3 separate regions of the Homo sapiens genome follow, and all the other regions are linked to region 3. Evidence: promoter capture Hi-C in human tissues and cell types (Jung and others, 2019). All regions are on one chromosome and are shown on one strand. The core of a region is centred on a gene start or on the middle of the fragment in contact, and the rest is flanking DNA. Distances in the headings are between cores, read along the strand shown. Region 1 overlaps DGKD (diacylglycerol kinase delta). Region 2 overlaps DGKD (diacylglycerol kinase delta). Region 3 holds the start of UGT1A6 (UDP glucuronosyltransferase family 1 member A6).

Region 1 (2,907 bases), core at 18-2,517, 260 kb before region 3:
GTTAAGTGAAGTAAGCCAAGCACAGAAAGACAAACTTCACATGTTCTTATTTGTGGGAGCTAATAAAAAAAAAAAGAAAACAGTTGAACTAATGGAGATAGGCAGTAGATTGATGGTTACCAGAGGCTGGGAAGGGTAGTGGGGCTGGGGGGATGGTTAATAGGTACAAAAATGTAGTTAGAATAAACGAGATCTAGTATTTGATAGCACAACGGGGTGACAACAGTTAATAATTTGCTGTACATTTAAAAATAACTCAGAGTATACTTGGATTGTTTATAACACAGAGAAAGGATAAATCCTTGAGGCAATGGATACCCCATTTACTCTGTGATTATTCTGTGCCTGTATTAGAGTGTCTCATATGCCCCATAAATACATATACCTACCATGTACCCACAAAAAAAATTAAAAAGAACGTTGATGTATTTCTTTTGTGAAATGCAAGTTCATAGCCTTTTTTATATCAGGAAGATTTTTTTTCTACTGATTGATAAGAACCCTTTATATATTATGGATATCATTTTCATTTGTTGATTATTACCAGGTCACAGCTTTATTTCCAGTCAAGTTGTTCAGGTCCTGCATAGTCTGATATTGAGGTTTTCTACAAGAACATTTATATGTGATACATGCTCATGGTATTCCAGACTTACAGCTGAGCAGACTTCCCTCAACTGTTCAAATGCTGGCCATCACTGTGGGCTCCCTGAAGCAGTAGCAACTGTGTCTTCCACTGTTCGGAAAACAACAGTTGTTACTTCTTTTTTTATTTCCTTAGGGTTTACTACTGTGTCTAAGTAGCAAGCAATTATAAATGTCCACTTAAATTGATTGCTGATGAATATATAAAAACTAAATTTCACTGTCTTTTTGGTTTGAGATCATTCTTATTTTTAATTTTTAGTGATCCTTGATAACCATTTTTGTTTTCGGTTCAGTGTGAATACCTGAATGAAATAGTAATTTTTATGTCTGTGTGAGGTCGGTTTTAAGAAAGCGTTCATAGCTATCAGCACTTGCCTTTTGTTCATGGATCTGTTGAACCTGTTTCTTTCTCTAGGTCATAACTCCATGCAGGAAGCTCATCTTGTGTGCTGATAACAGAAAAGAAATGGAAGATTGGATTGCAGCATTAAAGACTGTGCAGAACAGGGAGCACTTTGAGGTTAAAAAAGAAAATACCCTTCTCCAAATGCCTCCTGTTGCCTCCCTCACCCCAGTGTCTGCTGTCTGAGTGTCTCCCACGTGCGGACCCACAGTCTGGAGCTCACGTTCTTAGCATGTTCTTTATACAATTAAAGCTTATTGCTTGTCCTCTCAGCAGACCTGTCCTTTATAAACCTTCCTCCTCTCCTCTCTTGGATACTTTGTTTAATCTTGTCCAAGTTACTGCATTTAACAATTTAAAAGAGAAGTCTTATCTTTGCCCTCTTGGTTTCGTTCTTCCAGCCCACCCAGTACAGCATGGACCACTTCTCAGGGATGCACAATTGGTACGCCTGTTCCCACGCGAGGCCGACCTACTGCAATGTGTGCCGTGAGGCTCTGTCTGGGGTCACGTCGCACGGGCTGTCCTGCGAGGGTACGGATGTGCGTTTGTTATTCTGTCAGGAAAGGTGGCCTGGCATTTTACTTGATAAAGCCTTGGAAATCCAAACCCAGTCACCATAAATAAGCCGTTGTCACCCATGTGGTCAGTCAAGGGCACAGCGATTTCTGTGATGCCATTCTTGTTTATTTTACCTGCCGAAGAGTCCTTGATAAATCATTTTTTATAGTGCTCAGAGTGAAAAGGGAAGTGGTGGGTGGCAAAAGGAGAAATGGGAAATCTAGAGCACACAGAGGGAAAGGCACTGAAGGAACAGTGGTCGGCCCCTGTGTCTCACACTCTGCAGCCGGGGAAACGGGGCTGTGCATATATGGACTGAAAGTGTGTTACAGACTTAGAGGTCAGGGCTGCAGGGTTTGGGCAAGGGCATTCAGTCTGGTGGCAAAGCAGTGGGCTAGAGCAGGGCTTGTTAGCTATAGCCTGGACCACACCCTGCCTCTGCCTGTTTTTGTACAGCTCCCACGCTTCAGACTGGCTTTTAAATTTTTAAATGATTGGAAAAAATCAAAAGAAGAATCATATTTTGTGACACATGAAAATTACATGAAATTCAAATTTGTGCCCGTAAAAAAACATTGTCTCTGGCTGCTTTTGTGCTACATGACAGAGTTGATTAGTGGTGACGGAAGCTGGTTGCGACCTGCAGAGTCTCCACTGCTCACTCTCTGGCCTGTTACAGAAAGCTTACTGATCCCCAGCTTTCCCTGCCGCTGCCGGTCCCACCGCCATCAGCCTCTAAGCGTATCACAGTAGTTCACTTATAAAATGGGAGTGCCATTGGTTCCTTCCTTGACTTTTCTGGAGCTGGACGGTTCTCACAACACTGCTCAGCATGGGAAGCTCTTGGCACAGACACAGCTTGTAGGCTCATGTGCCCCTTCTCTCACAGTGTGCAAATTTAAGGCCCACAAGCGCTGTGCTGTGCGTGCAACCAATAACTGCAAGTGGACCACACTGGCCTCGATCGGGAAGGACATCATTGAAGATGCAGATGGGGTATGTTAAGAAATACCACCTGTGGGGCCCTGAGCCAGGGTCCCCCACCTGCACGGCCCCATGCAAGCCTCCTCCCTGCCCTCCCTGCCACTGTTTCATTTGAGATGGTCACACTGGCATTGGGTGGCACAGTGGAAATTATATGCGGTCTCCGTGTGGTTGTCGCACCCCCGAGCTCCATCCTGTCCCTGTGAGTCTTGTTTGCACCTCCGACAGGTGCTATGGGTAGATGGTACTTCACAGGCCCTGCCATCCCTTCCCTCACTGGCCATCAGGGAAGGAGCTTGTTCTGGGAAGAA
Region 2 (2,700 bases), core at 156-2,655, 290 kb before region 3:
CCTTAGTTACAGGCTGAGACAAGCTCCGATGGAAGAGCAGTACATGGTGCCTGATATGTGGAAGACCCCACCTGGCCTTGGGGAGGGGCTGGGCAGTCTTCTCAGAGGAAGTGAGGTCTCATAGCTGAGACATGAAGAATGATAGTGGTAAATCCACTGAGGGAAGCATGAGCCTGAGAGGGTATGTGTGTCTGTGTGTTGGTGTGTGTCTGTGTGTTTCTTTGTGTGTGTCTGTGTGTTTCTTGTGCAAATAGGCACCTCGGGGATGGGGCAGGTGGAGGGACCAGCAGTGCGAAGACCTTGGGATGGGGACACCACGTGGAGTGTGCAAAGTGGTGGAAGGGCCAGGGTGGCTGATGGAGGCCAGAGCAAGAGGACACCAGAGGGGACCAGCGTGGCTGGGGGGGGCCAGAGCGAGAGGACACCAGAGGGGACCAGGGTGGCTGGGGGGGGCAGAGCGAGAGGACTCCAGAGGGGACCAGGGTGGCTGGGGGGGGGGGCGCCAGAGTGAGAGGACTCCAGAGGGGACCAGGGTGGCTGGCAGAGGCCAGAGTGAGAGGACACCAGAGGGGAGCAGGGTGGCTGGCAGAGGCCAGAGTGAGAGGACACCAGAGGGGACCAGGGTGGCTGCGGGGGGGGCCAGAGTGAGAGGACTCCAGAGGGGACCAGGGTGGCTGGGGGGGGGGGGGTGCCAGAGTGAGAGGACTCCAGAGGGGACCAGGGTGGCTGGCAGAGGCCAGAGTGAGAGGACTCCAGAGGGGACCAGGGTGGCTGGGGGGGGGGCCAGAGCGAGAGGACACCAGAGGGGACCAGGGTGGCTGAGGGGGGCAGCAGAGTGAGAGGACTCCAGAGGGGACCAGGGTGGCTGGCAGAGGCCAGAGTGAGAGGACTCCAGAGGGGACCAGGGTGGCTGGCAGAGGCCAGAGTGAGAGGACACCAGAGGGGAGCAGGGTGGCTGGCGGGGGGCCAGAGCGAGGCGAGAGGACACCAGAGGGGACCAGGGTGGCTGGGGGGGGGGGGCAGAGTGAGAGGACACCAGAGGGGACCAGAGTGGCTGGCAGAGGCCAGAGTGAGAGGACTCCAGAGGGGACCAGGGCAGAGCTTGGGACTTACTCCTCAGGACTTGGGCTGCTGTTGAATAGTTTTATTTGGTGAAATTCTCAGATTTGCAGGTGTCAGAAAGTTCTACTCTGGCTGTAGGGTGGAGGGTGAACTGGAAGGGGAGGGAGGTTTGTAGGATTGTTAGGAGAGAGTGGAGTGGAGAGTGCGGAGGTGTCTAGGGGGCAGTGGGCAGGCTAGTGATCAGGTCAGAAGGGGGTGGAGTAGATGAAGGTGTCAGGGCTTCTGCTGAGTACAGCAGCAGGCTGGTTAAGTGAGCTCAGGAGTCCAGAAGAGGGGCTGTGGGGTGGTGGGGGAGGCTTCTTTATCTTCCATGTCTGTCACATTCTTTAGCCTTATTTTATTTAATTTGTTGGTTTTTTTCCTAGTTCTAGTTATCAAAGTTTTTATATTGTTTGTTACTACATTTACTTGCAACCTCCCCTCCCAGCTCCCACCCCCCACCCCCGATTTTGGCATACTTTGTATTTATCCTGGCTTATTCTTGTTTGAAAGGTAAAATTTTTTTTTTTTTGAGATGGAGTCTCGCTCTGTTGCCCAGGCTGGAGTGCAGTGGTGCGATCTTGGCTTACTGCAAGCTCCGCCTCCCGGGTTCACGCCATTCTCCTGCCTCAGCCTCCTGAGTGGCTGGGAGTACAGGTGCCGCCACCACGCCCGACTAATTTTTTTTTTGTATTTTTAGTAGAGACGGGGTTTCACAGCGTTAGCCAGGATGGTCTCGATCTCCTGACCTCGTGATCCGCCGGCCTCAGCCTCCCAAAGTGCTGGGATTAAAGGTGTGAGCCACCGCGCCCGGCCAATAGGTAAAATATTTTTTAAAAGTTTTCTGTTTAACAAAGTCATTCCCTCCAGGGAAAGATTTTCCTTTGATCTTCTCCATTTTCTCTTGGGTTTTCACATGTTTTCATTGACTTAGGATTTCTCCCCTGATTTATTAAACTTTGTGTTATAGTAATTTTAGTTGTTGTCTTCAAGTCCTACGCTTGTTTGCTTTTTTTGAGACAGTCTCACTGTGTCGCCCAGGCTGGAGTGCAGTGATGCGATCTCAGCTCACTGCAACTTCCACCTTCTGGGTTCAAGTGATTCTTGTGCCTCAGCCTTCCGAGTAGCTGGGATTACAGGCTCCCGCCACCACACCCGGCTAATTTTTGTATTTTTAGTAGAGATGGGTTTCACCATGTTGGCCAGGCTGGTCTTGAACTCCTGAGCTCAAGTGATCTGCCCGCTTCAGCCTCCCAAAGTGCTAGGATTACAGGTGTGAGCCACCATGCCCAGTTTTATCATCTTCCCTTAGCAGCCTAGAGCTGTGGAACACTACAAGACTGTAGGGTCCATTCGAGTTTTATGCTTTTATTTACTTATTTCTCCAAGTCAGTGTTTTTCATCATTTTTAAACCCATGTTCTCTTTTGATGAAGGATTAATTTTTATTGCCTCATTTAGTTTTTGAAATTTCAAAATGCAGCAAAAAGGAATGAAAGCAGTGGGCTTTATTCTCACCCTCCCTGACCCTCCTGGAGAGTCATTCCTACCTGTATTCCATTTGGTCTTATTTATTTATAATATATGCTACATGAGAGCA
Region 3 (2,842 bases), core at 229-2,728:
GCCCCTCTAATCATGTTGCTCAGGCTTCTTCTCCCTTCCTGGGCCCCAGAACACCTCCGGTGCCAAACTTGTGGGTGGGAACAGGAACTCGCGTGCCAGCCAGGTGTGCATGACTAGCTCTGGGCAAGTCTGTTCTAGTAATTCAAGGTACCACCTCTCACTGGGACAGCCTAGTTTCTACACAGGTCTTGCTCTGGGACCGCCCTCAGCAGTGTGGTTAGCAGGCAGGGCCAGTGTGACCCTCCCTTTCTGGGCCTCAGTTGAGAAACCTGAAGCTCAGGAGAGGAGTCACTCCCCTGGCAGATGGGTGGCTGGGCCAGAAGCAGATACCAGGCTTTCTGACTCCTGCTCTAGGATTCTCACCACGTACTGGCTAGACTTATACTTCTCAAATCTTAATTTCCTAAAGGCAAGTAACAGTTTGAATGTTGTTATATTGTGATGTATAATAAGAAATATATGTTTGTCTTTGTTTCCTGGACACAGCTCCTGAAACCATAAGTGGTGGGAGCGATAAACGTGAACAAAGAATCTTTTGTTATTCAAAACAGATCCCTTTCGATCACACCTAAGTTTATGTAAAGGAGATGTAAAGTCTCTAAGGATGAGGGCTAGTTGCCAGGGAACAAAACCCTTGCGATTAGAGGGAAGAAAGGAGAGAGAGATTGAAGATTGATTTGATCACCGATGGGCAACAATCTAATCAATCATGCCTACTATGTATGGAAGCCTACATAAAAACTCAGAAGGGCAGGGTTCAGAGAGCTTTCAGGTTGCTGAAGGTGTGGAGGGTGGGGCACCCAGAGATGGCAGATGGGGCTCCATGGCCATACCCCCATATCTTGTTCTTTGTACTTTTTCCTCTGGCTATTCATCCGTATTGTTTGCAATATCCTTTGTAATAAACCAAACCTAGTAAATAAACTGTTTTCTTCAGTTCTGTGAGCCATTCTAGCAAATGATTGACTCCAAGAAAGAGGGTGTGTGAACCTCTGATTTTTGCCAAGTCAGACAGAAGTTGTGGGTAACCTGGGGACCTACTACTTGCAATTGGTGTCTGAAGTGAGGGCAGTCTTGTAGGACTGAGCCCTTAACCTGTGGGGTCCGTGCTAACTCAGAATTCAGTTCAGAATGGAATTGAATTGTAGGATACCCAGCTGGTGTTAGAGAATAGGTCCGTGTGCAAGAAAAATTCCCGCACATCATGGACATAACAGACAACGTCAATGATGAGGAATCCAGCAAGTTCGGGATAGAGAATTGGCAGGGGGTCCTCAGGGGTCTCTCCAAGTCATCTTCAAAGTGTTGCTATAACTTTTCAGAGAGGGAGAAGCAGACTTGTGGAGCTGAAGAGAAACACCCAGAAGCTCAGGTGAAAGCTGACACGGCCATAGTTGGTTCATATTAACCATGTGATTAAAATGGTTAAATATTAATTTGGGTTCTTACATATCAAAGGGTAAAATTCAGAGCAAGGGAGAGGTAGACAGGACCTGTGAAAAGCAGTGGTTAGTTTAGGGAAAATACCTAGGAGCCCTGTGATTTGGAGAGTGAAAACTCTTTATTACCGTTGTTACTTTAACTCTTTCCAGGATGGCCTGCCTCCTTCGCTCATTTCAGAGAATTTCTGCAGGGGTTTTCTTCTTAGCACTTTGGGGCATGGTTGTAGGTGACAAGCTGCTGGTGGTCCCTCAGGACGGAAGCCACTGGCTTAGTATGAAGGATATAGTTGAGGTTCTCAGTGACCGGGGTCATGAGATTGTAGTGGTGGTGCCTGAAGTTAATTTGCTTTTGAAAGAATCCAAATACTACACAAGAAAAATCTATCCAGTGCCGTATGACCAAGAAGAGCTGAAGAACCGTTACCAATCATTTGGAAACAATCACTTTGCTGAGCGATCATTCCTAACTGCTCCTCAGACAGAGTACAGGAATAACATGATTGTTATTGGCCTGTACTTCATCAACTGCCAGAGCCTCCTGCAGGACAGGGACACCCTGAACTTCTTTAAGGAGAGCAAGTTTGATGCTCTTTTCACAGACCCAGCCTTACCCTGTGGGGTGATCCTGGCTGAGTATTTGGGCCTACCATCTGTGTACCTCTTCAGGGGTTTTCCGTGTTCCCTGGAGCATACATTCAGCAGAAGCCCAGACCCTGTGTCCTACATTCCCAGGTGCTACACAAAGTTTTCAGACCACATGACTTTTTCCCAACGAGTGGCCAACTTCCTTGTTAATTTGTTGGAGCCCTATCTATTTTATTGTCTGTTTTCAAAGTATGAAGAACTCGCATCAGCTGTCCTCAAGAGAGATGTGGATATAATCACCTTATATCAGAAGGTCTCTGTTTGGCTGTTAAGATATGACTTTGTGCTTGAATATCCTAGGCCGGTCATGCCCAACATGGTCTTCATTGGAGGTATCAACTGTAAGAAGAGGAAAGACTTGTCTCAGGTTGGTGGGTTTATTTCTTTTGGACTGCCTTGTTTCTTCCAGGCTCTGTCCTCCCTCACTCATTTGGCTCCTTGAGCCGACTGTCCCTTGGAGGATTTCCTGGAGAAACGGTGGGGGGAAGTGATACCCGGCTCGGAGCAGCGGGAACACATAGGAGACCTGAGGCTGAAGTGATACAGAGGCATTCGGATGAAGACAGGGCTCATGCTTGGCAAGAGTAGGAGATTTGCTTAGTTGGATAATCTGGGACAGTCACATACTCATTGAATGAGCCTTAGAAATGTCCCAGTTCAAACAGAGGTGAAGGCTTGACTAAGGGAACAGGTCCAGGTTAAAATCCATTTTCCCAACTCTGTCCCATGCTTTGTCTCTGGACCTTGAGCCAGGG

The links. Contacts are between HindIII fragments. The study calls those that stand out against the background at their distance.
Region 1: a fragment that was not itself captured here is called in contact with the fragment with the promoter of UGT1A6 in region 3 in 2 of the 25 tissues and cell types used here (liver and thymus).
Region 2: a contact is called between a fragment that was not itself captured here and the fragment with the promoter of UGT1A6 in region 3, in 2 of the 25 tissues and cell types used here (mesenchymal stem cells and stomach).

Annotation. Positions count from the first base shown.
Region 1 is chr2:233,433,317-233,436,223 of GRCh38, forward strand. DGKD (diacylglycerol kinase delta) reads left to right here. Exons shown (of 30, transcript NM_152879.3): 4 at 1,064-1,168; 5 at 1,453-1,585; 6 at 2,502-2,608. Among named protein-coding and RNA genes, the nearest start is that of DGKD, 80 kb to the left of the region's middle. The HindIII fragment of the contact is 4,831 bases long and covers 1-2,907 here.
Region 2 is chr2:233,396,528-233,399,227 of GRCh38, forward strand. All of the region lies in intron 3 of DGKD (diacylglycerol kinase delta), which reads left to right. Among named protein-coding and RNA genes, the nearest start is that of DGKD, 43 kb to the left of the region's middle. RefSeq lists an enhancer at 2,473-2,700. The HindIII fragment of the contact is 5,802 bases long and covers 1-2,700 here.
Region 3 is chr2:233,691,412-233,694,253 of GRCh38, forward strand. UGT1A6 (UDP glucuronosyltransferase family 1 member A6) reads left to right here and starts at 1,479. Exons shown (of 5, transcript NM_001072.4): 1 at 1,479-2,454. The coding sequence starts at 1,594. All of the region lies in intron 1 of UGT1A8 (UDP glucuronosyltransferase family 1 member A8), which reads left to right. All of the region lies in intron 1 of UGT1A10 (UDP glucuronosyltransferase family 1 member A10), which reads left to right. All of the region lies in intron 1 of UGT1A9 (UDP glucuronosyltransferase family 1 member A9), which reads left to right. It also overlaps UGT1A7 and UGT1A. RefSeq lists enhancers at 1-224, 225-831. The HindIII fragment of the contact is 31,227 bases long and covers 1-2,842 here.